Linked DNA regions of Homo sapiens: regions 1, 2, 3 and 5 are each linked to region 4. Evidence: promoter capture Hi-C in 16 types of primary human blood cells and fetal thymus (Javierre and others, 2016). All regions are on one chromosome and are shown on one strand. The core of a region is centred on a gene start or on the middle of the fragment in contact, and the rest is flanking DNA. Distances in the headings are between cores, read along the strand shown. Region 1 overlaps INAVA (innate immunity activator). Region 2 overlaps ASCL5 (achaete-scute family bHLH transcription factor 5). Region 3 overlaps KIF21B (kinesin family member 21B). Region 4 holds the start of KIF14 (kinesin family member 14). Region 5 overlaps KIF21B (kinesin family member 21B).

Region 1 (2,700 bases), core at 34-2,533, 290 kb before region 4:
AGAAGACTTCCTGGGCTTCTCATAGGGGTGGTCCAGGCTGGTTTCCTTCCAGGGGCTGTTCTGGACTGGAGCCCGTTCTGGGCTCCCAGCCTCAGGTCCTGTTGGCTGCAGACCCTCAAGGGTTTGGGGTGGGAGAGGCCGAGAAGGTGGGGCTGGAGACTCTGGAGGAGGTTTTGGCACTTGGGATTCCTCTGCAGGAGTAAAAGAAACCTGGTAAGGCCAGAGGCTGGGGGAACCGGCCCAACAAGAACCTCCACAAACCACAGCCCATGCCTCGCCGCTCTCCCTCCCATGCTGGCTTGTGCAGCTGCTGCAGGCCATGGCTCCAGCCCTAGATGCTCAAACATGTTTTCTTCTCCTTTGGGACTTACTTCTTCCCACACAGCCCTATTTTATGCCTTCCTCCTTCAAGAAGCCTCCCAGATTGACTCTCTTGGGCTTACAGTGCTCCACTTTCTAACCTTTGTTCCTGGTACCATGTCTGCAGTTATCTTTTGTTTACCTATTTTTCTTGTTCCTGCCATGCCCATATGGCCTATTTATTTCCTTATTGGCTTGGGCACTCCCCTGGGCAGGACTGCAACAGCTTCTCGATCCACCTTGACCCTGGCATCCTCATGGTTTGTACACAGGGTTCTTAATCTATAGACTTGTGTTTCCTTCCTGCTCCCTTCTTTTAAAAAACAGCAATGATTGTGGGCAGATTGCTCTTTGGCTCTGACTGGTGCATCTTGAAATCACACCCAAGGGTGAAGGAGGGACATCTGGGGTTGATCAGCTCTCTTGGAGTTCACCTTTCCTTTCCCTGTAAAAATAATGAGCTTCCAGAATGGGAGATGATCGCACATTCCCCATCTTCAACTGAGCATGTGCAAGGACATGCGGAAATTGACATGAAGTCCAAGCGGAAACCCTAAGCCTGGCACCCTAGCCTTCACTCCCACTTAAATTCCACACCAGCAAACTGCCCAAACCCCATGGTCTTGCAGTAGGAGTCCAGCCTTGACAATAGTCCCCCAAACGTCCTTCTCACCTTCCTCCAGGAGGAGCCCATCTGACAGGGAGCTGTCATCAGAGGCACTGAGCTCTGCGAAAGACAAAGGGGAGAGAAGAGAAGGAAGTGAAGAAATGAACAAACAGATATGAGTAACCAGCAGTGCTGAGCAGCTCAGGCCTGATCACTCCCCCAGGACAGCATCAGTTATGAGGAAATACCCTCTGTGTGCTAAATACACATTGGGAGTGATTTTTTTTTTTTTTAAGAGACAGGGTCTTACCCTGTGGCCCAGGCTGGAGTGCAGTGGTGTGATCATGGCTCACTGCAGCCTTGACCTCCCAGGCTCAAGGGATCCTCCCACCTCAGCCTCACAAGTAGCTGAGACCACAGGGGCATGCCAGCACACCCAGCTAAATTATTTTATTTTTTTTGTAGAGAAGAGGTCTTGCTGTCTTGCCCAGGCTGATCTTGAACTCCTAGGCTCAAGTGATCATCCCACCTTGGCCTCCCAAAGTGCTGGGATTATAGGCATGAGCCACTGTGCCTGGCCTGGCTGTAAACTTACTACATGGAAGTAGAAAAAAATAGAAGGCAGAGCTAGGAGACAGGAAACCTGATTTTAATCCTGACTCTGATACTAGCTATGCAACCTTGAATAAACCATTTCAATGCTCTAGACCTCAGTTTCCCCACCTGTCAAAAAAAAAGAAAAAGGGTGTCCTCTGGCAGGGCTTCTTGGTAGTGGAAAGGAAAGACAAAGGGTCATTTTGGAAGGCCCTTAGGATAAAAAGAATTTCATGGCCAGGCGCGGTGGTTCATGCCTGTAATCCCAGCATTTTAGGAGGCCAAGGCAGCAGATGGCTTAAGCCCAGGAGTTCAAGACCCACCTGGGCAAGATGGTGAAATCTGGTCTCTACAAAAAATACGAAAATTAGCCAGGCATGATGGTGCATGCCTGTAGTCCCAGCTACTTGGGAACCTGAGATGGGAAGATCACTTGAGCCTGGGAGGTCGAGGCTGCAGTGAGCCGTGATCACACCACCGCACTCCAGCCTGGGCAACAGAGTGAGACCCTGTCTCAAATAAAAAAAAGGGAATTTCACTCTAACTTTTGTATAATCATCTCACATCACAAACACAATTCAAAGATCCCAATGTGAGACCTCCTGTGTTACCAACAACAAGAGGAACGCAAGGTAGGAATTTGAATTTAAGATAAGGTCTGGCCAGCTGGCCCCAGGGAAGTTTCTTCAGTTGGTGATCTGGCAAGTCACCTGAAGGAAATTCAGTGTGACTTTACTTCATGGTATAGCAGCACTTTTTACCTAAGAAATCAGAGGGAACTCATTTGTGCTATTGCTTTTGAAGAAACTTAAGCCTTCAGATTTTTTTTTTTTTTTTTTTTGAGATGGAGTCTCATTCTCTTACCCAGGCTGGAGAGCAGTGGTGTGATCTCGACTCACTGCAACCTCCACCTCCCAGGTTCAAGCGATTCTCCTGCCTCAGCCTCCCGAGTAGCTGGGATTACAGGCACACACCACTATGCCTGGCTAATTTTTGTATTTTTAGTAGAGACGGGGTTTTGCCAGGTTGGCCAGGCTGGTCTTGAACTCCTGACCTCAGGTGATCCACCCACCTCGGCTTCCCAAAGTGCTGGGATCACAGGCGTGAGCCACCACACCCGGCCAGGCCTTCAGATCTTG
Region 2 (2,700 bases), core at 149-2,648, 500 kb before region 4:
TTTTAGGTGCCACGTGGCTCACATACATTACCTTTGTCTTTACAGTAACCTCTAAGGTAGGTATTATTACCTTCACTTTTCAGATGAGGCAACAGGCTTATAGAAGTCAGTAACTGGCCTAAAGCTACTTAGCCAGTAAGAGCAGCGCCAGGATTCATCCCGGCCAGTTTAATCTAAAGCCCGTGCTCAGGGTTTAGCAGTGGGGTGGTTGCCTCTGGGAACATCTTCCCATAACTCCACAGCATTGCAAATGCCTGGTTATATTCAGGGAACTGGGAAGGACTAAATTCCTCACCCAGCTCCACCCCCAGGAGATCCTGTAACAATCATTACTCATAAAAAAGGTGGGGACCGCTGCCCGGCCAAGAAAGTCCTCATATCAACCCAATGAGACCCTGGTAAATTCAATCGGCTGTGTGACCCTGAGCAGCTCTCTTAGCCTCTCTGAGCCTGTTTCCTCTTTTGTAAACAGGAACAGTAATACCTTCTCTCAGGTGTGAGGATAGCATGGGATAAGGAAAGCAGAGCACGCCGCAAAGCACCAAGCATCAGAGGGCACCTAATCCACGCGAGCCCATCCTTCTCCACCCTGTTTCTCTTCTTTAAGACTCTCAGCAAAGTGATGCCACATTGAGGACTTGGCTTGGTCAGCCCATGTCAAAGCTCTGTGAGCTTTTCTCTTTGTGAAACTGGATGCAGCCAGGTTGCTGCGGAGCAACAGAGGTTTCCAAACCTGAGGCAGGGAGGATGGCGTGGAGGGCAGCGTGAGGGGCTAAGCAGGCTCTGGGGCCCATGGATAGTACTTCCTCATTCAGTGCAGGCTAAGGGGGCAAGTGGGGCTGGAATCCCGCCTGCACAACACCCACCCAGAGCATGAAGCATCATTTTCTAACCCAGCAAGGTGCCATGTGGGCTCATGGTCACAGGGCCTGGCTGCCCCTTCTCCCATCAGTGTTGAAACTATACCCGTCAAGATTCTGAAAGGATTGCTTATGTTGAATATGTGGTCTGGAGTGTTCACTATGTATATGGTGGGGGTGGTGAGGTTATCCTTCTAGAAATATGTACAGGTTATGTGACAGACCCCCCAAGGGAGATTGTAAGATTTCCTATTTGGGTTTTTGTTGTTGTTTTGGGGTTTTTTTTTTTGAGACAGGGTCTGAGTCTGTCACCCAGCTGGGTGCAGTGCTGCAATCACAGCTCACTGCAGCCTCCACCTCCTGAGCTCAACTGATCCTCCCACCTCAGCCTCCTGAGTAGCCGGGACTACAGGCATGCATCACCACATCCAGTTAACCGTTTTTATTTTTAGTAGAGATAGGGTCTCTACTAAAGTATGCAGAACCTAATGAAAGATGAATACAATATTTAATGAGAGATTTTTTTCAAGTTAGTGATAAAAAGATGGCCTGCTTAATGAATGCTAAATAAATCGACACTGCTAATTATTGGTCTACAAAATTAAAACAGAACCCTATTGGAAACCACACACAAAACTGAATTCCTAAAGGAAAATGTAGCGGTGAGTAAGACTTAAACAAGACTAGAAGCACAAGGTTCCCAAGCTGGTCACAAATTCCTGGGCTCAAGCGATCCCCCCACCTCGGCCTCCGAAAGTGCTGGGATTACAGGTGTGAGCCACACACCAGCCCCTATTTGTTTCTTAAAAAAATACATTTACCCTGAAGATTTAAAGGCAGAATTTCCTGAAGTGTATTCTATTTGATGTTAGTGGGCTTAAGACCATTTTTTAAGTGTTCTGTGGTTCCATTGGGAATTTGGGGGTTAAATACAAACAGGTTTCTTTACCTGCAGGGCTTCCCAGGGCCTCTGATGCTAACATGCCCTCCAAGGGCCAACGCTAATGTGGGTATCCAAGGAGGGAAATGCGGGGAGCTGCATTTCTCAAATTATGCAGCCCTTAGGGGAAAGGTTTTAGCAACCACCTTGCCTGGAGGCAGGGGAATGAGTGAGGATTCCACAAAGCTAATGAGTTCTGTCATTCTGAGTCCTTGGGGCTTCCTTACAAATGTTCCCAGTTTTTGGCGGCAGTGGGTAGAGGGGAGGCTATGGAAGCAGTCTCCCTGTTGCTGCCCAAAAGCAGCATTATGGACTGGTCAACTCTCAGAAATCTCTCAGAGTGGTAGGAGAAGAAGAAGACTATGGAATCACTTTCCCCAATACTTCCTTCAGAGCCATGGGTTCCCTGTTGAAAGAGACATGTTCAGCCAATTCCTGACCTCAGACCCCCAACTCTGGTTCCAGTCCTGCTAAAGACAATGAGGAAAGCCTGAAAGGTAGAATTATGTTGTCTGCTTCTTCAAAGTTCACATCTGCCTTTGCCTCCCCAGGGCTTCCCACCAGTGTCAATCAACAAACACTTAACTGAGCGTGTACTGTGTGTCTCAAAGAAGGATAAGACCAGAGTTCTTGGGCTCACAGTTTACAGCCTGGGTTGGGGGCAGTGACAGGAAGAGCCCTGGGGAGAGGGCCCTCAGGTTGCCTGTTGCCCATGCAGAGTATAAGGCTGAGGAGGGTGGGGAGACAGGGCCCTGGTGAACATTGAGCACCAGGGAGAGGCCTGGGAGAGATGGGCAGGGGATGAGTATGAAACCATTAACAGCAAGTTATGATAATGTGCCATCCCCAGGGGTGTGGACAGTGAGATCCTCTGGCAATAGGGACAACAAGGGGCTAATA
Region 3 (2,700 bases), core at 131-2,630, 350 kb before region 4:
CCCTATCACACTCTAGTTCAGTCCTGTGAACCATGTCCTGAGGGCCTTGCAGGGAAGTAGGAAATAGAAACTCCTCCACAAAGAGCCGAGGATCAGAGAAGACCCCTGAGATGAATCAGGGCCCTGCCCTGCCCACCAACTCTTTTCTAGCAATCATGTCCTGCCCAGGCTGCAGGCTTCATTAGGCTCCTGCTGTCCTCCATGATGTGACTAGCACAAGGTGTATATATGTTTTGTACCTCTGCCGATGGCTGTACATAGTGTATGAAAGTTATTTAAGCCCCATGTTGTACATTTCTGTTCCTAGATTGGATGTGTGTGTTCTAAGAAGTTGTCATAAATAAAACCTGAATGACCAATGTCTGTGGAGGTGTCCCCTGTCCCCTTCCAGGGGGCTGCTGACTTTTGGCTGGGGCCTTTGGAGAGGGAGTTGGTGGTGGTGGTGGGTGGGTGGGTGAATGGGTGCAGCAGGCCTCTGGGGCTGGGCCCAGCCTGATGAGAACTTCCTGAGCTGTGAGTTTGGGGCTTCACCAGTTAGAAAGCAGAGAGCTTTGAGAGCGTCACATTCTCCTCCAGACTCCATATGTTGTCTCCAGAGGCAGGTGCAGTTGCTGGAAGAGTGGGCAGCAGCATTTGTGGACCAACTGCTATATCCTAGGCACTGTTCAGAGCATTTTTCATTGTGTCTTCACTGCCCTGTGTGACAGGTGACATTCTCATTTTATGAAATGAGAAAGGTCTCGGGATGGATGTGACTTTCCCAGGATCACAGCTAGTAAGGACAGAGCCAGGATCTGCATCTAGACCTCCCCAACCACAGCAGCCTTTGCCTTTTGCTAACGTAACACGTACCTCTCTAGGGCCTGGACTACGCTGTGCGTGGTGCACGCCAAACGCATCTCGGTCCCTTGCCACTTATGGAAAGAAGGCAAGACTATAAAAAGATCATACAAGAAAAGAGCTCTACAAAGGTCTTTTCTTTTCTTTTTAAATAGAGATGGGATCTCACTATGTTTCCCAGGCTGGTCTCGAACTCCTGGGCTTAAGCCTTACCTCCCATCTCAGTCTCCCAAAGTGCTGGGATTACAAGCGTGAGTCACTGTGCCTCACCATGATTTTTGTCCTAGATCAGTGCTTTTCAGTCTTTAAGAACCCATATTCCCTTTTGATAACCATGAATTGTTTCACCAACTCCTGGAGATTCCGGCCCATCCCCTGGGCAGAGAGGCCCCTCGGGGAGAATCCACATCTTCATCACCAGCCACAACTGATTAAAAAGCTTAACTTCCTGATATTTGTATCAGGAATATAATAGGGTTTCTCTTTGCTTTGTTTCCCAAATATAAAACCAAATTGCTTCCTCAGCCTGCGCAGGTCCCCTGCTGTTTGTCCAGACTTATGGATGTGACAGGTGCTCTGGCCAGGGAATTCCTGGAGTCTGTAGGAGGCAGAAGTCACCGTGGGTGGGAGGGTGAAGCTTCCTGGGGAAGGTTTCCTCTAGAGAGGCTTCTGGTCCTCAAACAGAAAGGCCTTGGTGAGTGAGAGAGGGACCCTGAGCCATGGAGGGAGACACAAGTGGGCAGAGTTGCCCTGACATGCCAGCCCCGCTGGCAGGCACAGAGCCTCCTGCCCCAGGAGCAGGGTGGCTTCTTGCGGACAGTTGTTTTTGGCTGGCTGACCCGGCATCACCCATGCCACTCCCCGCCCCACCCTCGCTCCCCACAGGTCCATATTTTGCATAGGATCCTGCCTGACAGTGGGACAGAAGAGCCCACTGTGAACTGCAGGAAGTGACACCTGGGCATGGCCAGCTGCAGACTGGGCAGGGTGTGTGGGCAAGACCCAGAGACCGGCCACTGGGGAACTGGTCACGGGCCAGACCTGGAGTGGACTCCAGCCATCTGGTTCCTTCTTGCCACTGCGCTCCTCCCTGCACCCTCCAGAAAGTTTGCAGCACAAGGTAATTTTTCCAAATGTAGTTCACCCTGTCTCTCGAGGATGCCAAGGCTCCTGCAGGGTGCAGTGGGGGACAGGAACACTGGGTTAAGAGACTCTTTTCTTCTTTTAATGTGGGGTGTTGTTTTGTTTCCAGATTACATGAATAATATCTGCTTACTTTAGAAAATTTGGAAAGCAAGAGTGTCAAGAAAAATCCCGTTTAGGATATAAGCTATGGGGCAGCTTTCCCAGGCACAAGGGAATGGCACCTCTCAGAATTTGGTAAGAGCCATTCAATTGTCAGAACTAGGTGGCATCTTAAAGGTATCTTTTCCTCAGCCTCTGAAGTTGAGTTTTAAAAACAAAGATAATGTTTTCCAACTCTCTGTTTATAAATTTACATTCTACAGAATTGAGGCCCAGAGAAGCCAACAGAGTTGGCCAAAATCATCCTGGGACAGAGATGGCCCTAGAATCCATTACTTTCCATGCATTCATTACCTTGTATTCATTATTTTATGCTTGACCAAAGTGAGGGGGTGACTTGTGGGGGTGTCAGAACAGTCTTTAAAGTGGGTCTCATCCCAATGCACTTGACCGGTTAATAGATTTTTAATAAGATCTATCTTTTATCATTGCTTGTAACAAAGCAAAACTGCCCTGGCAGAGGCAGGGCACTGCAGGGCAAGTATCCAGGCCTGAGTGTTGATGCTTGGGGTGTGGTTTGGGCTGTGCCAAGGGCCAGCCATGGTGGTGTTTCTA
Region 4 (2,700 bases), core at 82-2,581:
CACCACGGCTGCCTAATTTTTGTATTTTTAGGAGAGACGGGGTTTCACCATGTTAGCCAGGCTGGTTTTAAACTCCTGACTGCAAGTGATCCGCCTGCCTTGGTCTCCCAAAGTGCTAAGATTACAGGCGTGAGCCACCGCACCTGGCCCTGATAAATATTATATTCTATTTTCTGATAGTTTCCTTATACCTTAATTTTAATTGAGTTTTAGAATGATTTTTAGAGTAAGATTTAGAATGAGTACTTTATCATCTGTTTGGTTGGTCTATATAATTGGAGCTACTTATGGTCTCTATCTCAGTGAATACTTCTTCAATATCTCTGTACTTTTTGCCTGTTTAAAAAACATTGTTGCTTTACAATATCTATTTATCTAGTCTTTCTCATTTATTTGGTTATTTTTCAGAATGTATTTGTAATATTTTTTCAGATTTCAAAATCTTATGGGGGCTGGGCGGCGCAGTGGCTCACGCCTGGCAGCTTACAAGGTCAGGAATTCGAGACCAGCCTGGCCAATATGGTGAAACCCCGTCTCTACTAAAAATACAAAAATTAGCTGGGCGTGGTGGTGCGCGCCTGTAATCCCAGCTACTCCAGAGGCTGAGGCAGGAGAATCGCTTGAACCAGGGAGGCGGAGGTTGCAGGGGCCACTGCACTCCAGCCTGGGCTGCAGAGCGAGACTCCGTCTCAAAAAAGAAAAAAAAAATTAAAAAAAGGGAACTTTTACTGAAACGGAGTTACATTGTACGGCGGCAAGAACCTTCAAGTTCTAGTTATGCCACTGCTAATTGTCTGATCTTTCACAAGTTTAACTCTAAACCTCAGTTCCTCATCTGTAAACGAGGGATAACATTAATATTTATCTCACAAGATTTTCAGGACTGTTTAAAAATTCATATAAGACATTTAGCATATTTCCTACGTGAACGCCTTGCATAGGAAACACTAGAAAAGTTAATTATTATGATTAACTTGGGGGCAAATATCCATTTACAATGTGAAGTCTTCGATGTAATGGCTTCTTTTAGATTAAAGACCGACAAGAGTGTCACTGTCATGCTTTTCGTTTGACACCCACTTCAACGAGGGGCCCGCTGCGCCCGCGACCGCCGCCCCTTCCTCTGGTCGGATTTAAAGGGGGCCAAGCTCCACGCTTTAGCAGAACCCGAGGAGGGGAGGGAGCGTTGCCTGGGAGATGAGGGTGGGGCGAGTCCAGCATTCAGAGACGGCTACCGGAGCCCAACCACCGGCACTTCCGGGGGGCGGGTGGAAGCAAAGGCGCGGCACCCGACGCGACGCCCAGCAGCCAATCAGAAGGCGGGGCGCCCATTCAAATTGCGGCCTTCTGGGGAGCCGGCGCTGGAGGTGGTGAGTGGCGTGGGGACTGTGTCGAGGGGGTCCCCAAGGTGCCGGACCCTGCGGAGGGGCGAAGTTTCGGCACTGGGGAGGGCGTGCGGACGCTTTCCCTACAGGCGACCACTGCTCTGCGGGCGGGTGGTCTTAGCTCCAGTCCCCCATTCAGTTCCTCAGCATTCCAGGTCGGCGGCGAAGGGGTCCCCGAACGAAGGGCGCAAGGCAGCGTCTCTGCTGGGACCGGGAAGCCGGACTTCAGGGCCTCTCGGCCCGTGGGCTTCTCCCCGAGTCTCCCCGAGTCGGTTGGCATTAAGAGGTAATTCTTAGTCATAGCCCCTGGTAATGACTAGCAGAGAAAGAACAGAATCACCGGATGTTTTGGTTTGGATTGTGCTTATTTTCCTTGTATTCCTTCCAGTCCTCTTTAAAATCTGATGGCGAAACTCCTCAAACAGAAACCGTATTGATTTGTGCAAATCGCAAATGGTTTTTAGTTGCAAGAGAATTTCCAGAATCTTCTTTTTGCCTTTAAATTCATTTCATAACAGGAAAATTCTGTATTTTGAGTTGAAACGTTGATGGGAGATGCTTATAAGCTGACGAATTTTTTTTGTAATGACTGTTATTTATGTAAAAATTTAAAAGCCTCATTTAAAAATGAACTTCCATTAATTTGTTCCTCGCTAGCAATAATCTTTGCAATAGTTTGAACCAGTGTCATTTTACAGGTTAGAACCCGGCATGCAAATTTAAAGTCTTGTTTACATCCTTGTAAGGAGTTGGATACAAAGCTGACTAAAAGCCAGGTCTCTTAGCTGTCACTGCTGTTCCCTTTCTTTAAAACGTTAATACCTGATAGATATTGTTGCTGTATATTTACATACACCTCTGTCTAATTTGTTGTCTTACTGCTAAAGGGCAGGTTGTCTGTTTATCTAATCTTGCATGGTTTTTCTCAACACAATTAATTTACAGTACTTATCGTACTTACTGCCTGTGGTACTTGGGAATAATCTGCCTCGTGACACCAATCAATTCAATCTTCTCTATAGGCATTCCTGTATTCAACATACATGGGCCGGACGCGGTGGCTCACGCCTGTAATCCCAGCACTTTGGGAGGCCGAGGCGGGCGGATCACAAGGTCAAGATATCGAGACCATCCTGGCCAACATGGTGAAACCCCGTCTCTACTAAAAATACAAAAATTAGCTGGGCATGGTGGTGGGCGCCTGTAGTCCCAGCTACTTGGGAGGCTAAGGCAGGAGATTTGCTTGAATACAGGAGGAGGAGGTTGCAGCAAGCCAAGGTCGTGCCACTGCACTCCAGCCTGGTGACAGAGCAAG
Region 5 (2,700 bases), core at 153-2,652, 390 kb before region 4:
GTGGCAGCTTGGCAGGCAGTGTGAGGGAGGGGCCTGTGGCAGCCCCCTTCTAGCTGGGCCTGACCCAGGGCTCTCTCCATCATGGGCAGGATCCGGCCCCAGCTGTCGAAGGAGAAGATTGAGGGCTGTCACATCTGTACCTCTGTTACCCCGGGAGAGCCCCAGGTCCTGCTGGGGAAGGACAAGGCCTTCACCTATGACTTTGTCTTCGACCTGGACACCTGGCAAGAACAGATCTATTCCACCTGTGTGAGCAAGCTCATCGAGGGCTGCTTCGAGGGCTATAATGCCACGGTGCTGGCCTATGGGCAGGTAAGCCATCTTCACGCCCACCTATGGCGGCTCCAGCCTTGGTCTCCCTGCATCCAATGGAGAGAAAGCTCCACCTTCAGAGCAGCTGAAACATAGCCTCAGGGTTTTGTCTATTGTCTAAGGAGGCCGTTGCACCGCTGGTTAGCAGAGGGAGGGCTGTCAGTGATTTCCCCAGAGTGTGGCTTCAGGACCAAGAAAGCAGCAGGGGAACCGGGCTGGGAGGTAGATGAGCTAAGGGGATTTGGCCCAGGTACAGGGCTTGCTGGTGCCCCCAAAGGGTGCAGGGTTACACCCTCCTATCTTTGCCAATGCAGACGGGGGCCGGGAAGACGTACACCATGGGCACTGGCTTTGACATGGCAACGTCGGAGGAGGAGCAGGGCATCATCCCGAGGGCCATCGCACACCTCTTTGGGGGCATTGCCGAGCGCAAGCGCCGGGCACAGGAGCAGGGCGTGGCTGGACCTGAGTTCAAAGTCAGCGCCCAGTTTCTGGAGGTACTGTGGCCCCATAGGGTGGGCAGGTGGGAGGCTTGGTGGACAACAGGACCATGGAAGCCGGGCCTTCCTCCAGTGCAGTGGAATGAGTCCTGGGAACCATGGGGGCATCTCCAGGTGATGAGTTCCCTGCTATTGAAAGAATCCAAGCAAGGGCTGGAGGACTACTTGGTGGGACACTCAAAAGGGGTTCCTGCATCAGATGGAGCTTGAGTTGATGACTGTATGATCCCTTCACACCCTGACGTGTTCTAGCTCTGACACTGATTAGCCTTGTGACCTTGGGCTAGTCATTTACCACACTGAGCCTCATCTGCAAAATGGGGTGGTACCTGTTTCCTTAGGGTTTTGTGAGAACCCTGGCTCTCTCCCTTCCTTCTGGCCTTCTCTGGGTTCCCCCTCAGCCTCAGGGCATCCTATCCTGCCCCTTTCTGGCTCAGATGCTTCCTGGCCCCCTGAGTCTTCTCTGACCCCAGGGCAGAAAGGTCCTCTAGGAAAGGTCTTTCTGTGCACCTGGCCCTTCCTGTCTCTGGGAGAATATCAGGCCCAGACTGTGGCAGCCAGGGAGGGGCTTTTAGTGGGGAGCAGGGGGTCTCTGTGCTCTTGACCATTGGGCCTATGCTGAGCCCCCACTCAGTAAGGGCACTTATCCCATAAACCCTGCTGCTCTGATTGTGTCCAGGTTGCCTTCTGAGGGAAGCATGTGGCTTTGGCCCTCTCCAGGCCTTCCCCAACCCCAGCCCCTGCCTACCACAACACAGCTACTCCCTCCTGGGCACACAGGTGGTGGCTTGCCCTGCAGGGTATCCTGCATTTTAGAATTTGGAGGTTTTCTTTGCCCCTCTGGACTTTCGCTTCTGATAAATGGACTGCCTATGTGTGTATGACTGTGTGTTTGTATCTGTGTGTGTGTGTCATCTGTCTGTATGTCTGTGTGTGGCTCTGTGTCTTGTGTGTCTATGTGTGTGTCTATGTGTCTGTGTGCGCATCTTTGTATGTGTGCATCTGTGTGAGTGCATCTGTGTATGTGTGTGTGTGTATGTGTGTCTATGTGTCTGTGTGCGCATCTGTCTGTGTGTGTCTGTGCGTGTGTCTATGTGTCTCTGTGTGCGCGTCTGTGTGTGTGTGTGTGTGCCTGTCTGTGTCTGTGTGTGTGTATCTCTGTGTGTGTCTCTGTGTCTATGTGTGTGTCTGTGTGTGTGTCTCTGTGTTTGTGTGTGGGTGTCTGTGTGTGTGTCTGTGTGTCTCTGTGTGTGTATGTCTGTGTCTGTCTCTGTGTGTGTGTCTATGTGTCTCTGTGTCTGTGTGTGTGTATGTTTGTGTGTCTCTGTGTCCGTGTCTGTGTATCTCTGTGTGTGTGGGTGTCTGCGTGTGTGTGTCTGTGTGTCTCTGTCTCTGTGTGTGTGTGTGTGTCTATGTGTCTCTGTGTCTGTGTGTGTGTCTGTGTGTCTCTGTGTCCGTGTCTGTGTATCTCTGTGTCTGTGTGTGGGTGTCTGCGTGTGTGTGTCTGTGTGTGTCTGTCTCTGTGTGTGTGTGTCTGTGTGTGTCTGTCTCTGTGTGTGTGTGTGTCTGTGTGTCTCTGTGTCTGTGTGTGTGTCTGTGTGTCTCTGTGTCCGTGTCTGTGTATCTCTGTGTCTGTGTGTGGGTGTCTGCGTGTGTGTGTCTGTGTGTGTCTGTCTCTGTGTGTGTGTGTCTGTGTGTGTCTGTGTGTGTGTGTGTCTATGTGTCTCTGTGTCTGTGTGTGTGTGTGTCTGTGTGTCTCTGTGTCCGTGTCTGTGTATCTCTGTGTCTGTGAGTGGGTGTCTGTGTGTGTGTGTCTGTGTGTGTCTGTCTCTGTGTGTGTGTGTCTGTGTGTGTCTGTCTCTGTGTGTGTGTGTCTATGTGTCTCTGT

Evidence for each region. Contacts are between HindIII fragments. The CHiCAGO score rates a contact against its expected background, and 5 or more counts as called.
Region 1: a fragment that was not itself captured here is called in contact with the fragment with the promoter of KIF14 in region 4 in 1 of 17 cell types (total CD4 T cells); the score reaches 5.5 in total CD4 T cells.
Region 2: a contact is called between a fragment that was not itself captured here and the fragment with the promoter of KIF14 in region 4, in 1 of 17 cell types (naive CD8 T cells). The highest score is 5.0, in naive CD8 T cells.
Region 3: a fragment that was not itself captured here is called in contact with the fragment with the promoter of KIF14 in region 4 in 5 of 17 cell types (total CD4 T cells, naive CD4 T cells, naive CD8 T cells and 2 more); the score reaches 8.0 in total CD4 T cells.
Region 5: a fragment that was not itself captured here is called in contact with the fragment with the promoter of KIF14 in region 4 in 1 of 17 cell types (neutrophils); the score reaches 6.4 in neutrophils.

Annotation. Positions count from the first base shown.
Region 1 is chr1:200,906,221-200,908,920 of GRCh38, reverse strand. INAVA (innate immunity activator) reads right to left here. Exons shown (of 10, transcript NM_001142569.3): 6 at 1,034-1,087; 7 at 1-191. Among named protein-coding and RNA genes, the nearest start is that of INAVA, 13 kb to the right of the region's middle. The HindIII fragment of the contact is 4,710 bases long and covers 1-2,700 here.
Region 2 is chr1:201,120,278-201,122,977 of GRCh38, reverse strand. The region is part of intron 1 of ASCL5 (achaete-scute family bHLH transcription factor 5); the gene reads left to right. Among named protein-coding and RNA genes, the nearest start is that of ASCL5, 5.6 kb to the left of the region's middle. The HindIII fragment of the contact is 9,756 bases long and covers 1-2,700 here.
Region 3 is chr1:200,967,049-200,969,748 of GRCh38, reverse strand. KIF21B (kinesin family member 21B) reads left to right here. Exons shown (of 35, transcript NM_001252102.2): 35 at 1-359. Among named protein-coding and RNA genes, the nearest start is that of KIF21B, 55 kb to the left of the region's middle. The HindIII fragment of the contact is 198 bases long and covers 1,282-1,479 here.
Region 4 is chr1:200,619,382-200,622,081 of GRCh38, reverse strand. KIF14 (kinesin family member 14) reads left to right here and starts at 1,331. Exons shown (of 30, transcript NM_014875.3): 1 at 1,331-1,671. RefSeq lists a silencer at 1,244-1,393 and an enhancer at 1,562-2,063. The HindIII fragment of the contact is 3,652 bases long and covers 1-2,700 here.
Region 5 is chr1:201,006,878-201,009,577 of GRCh38, reverse strand. KIF21B (kinesin family member 21B) reads left to right here. Exons shown (of 35, transcript NM_001252102.2): 2 at 90-312; 3 at 627-809. Among named protein-coding and RNA genes, the nearest start is that of KIF21B, 15 kb to the left of the region's middle. The HindIII fragment of the contact is 2,864 bases long and covers 1-2,700 here.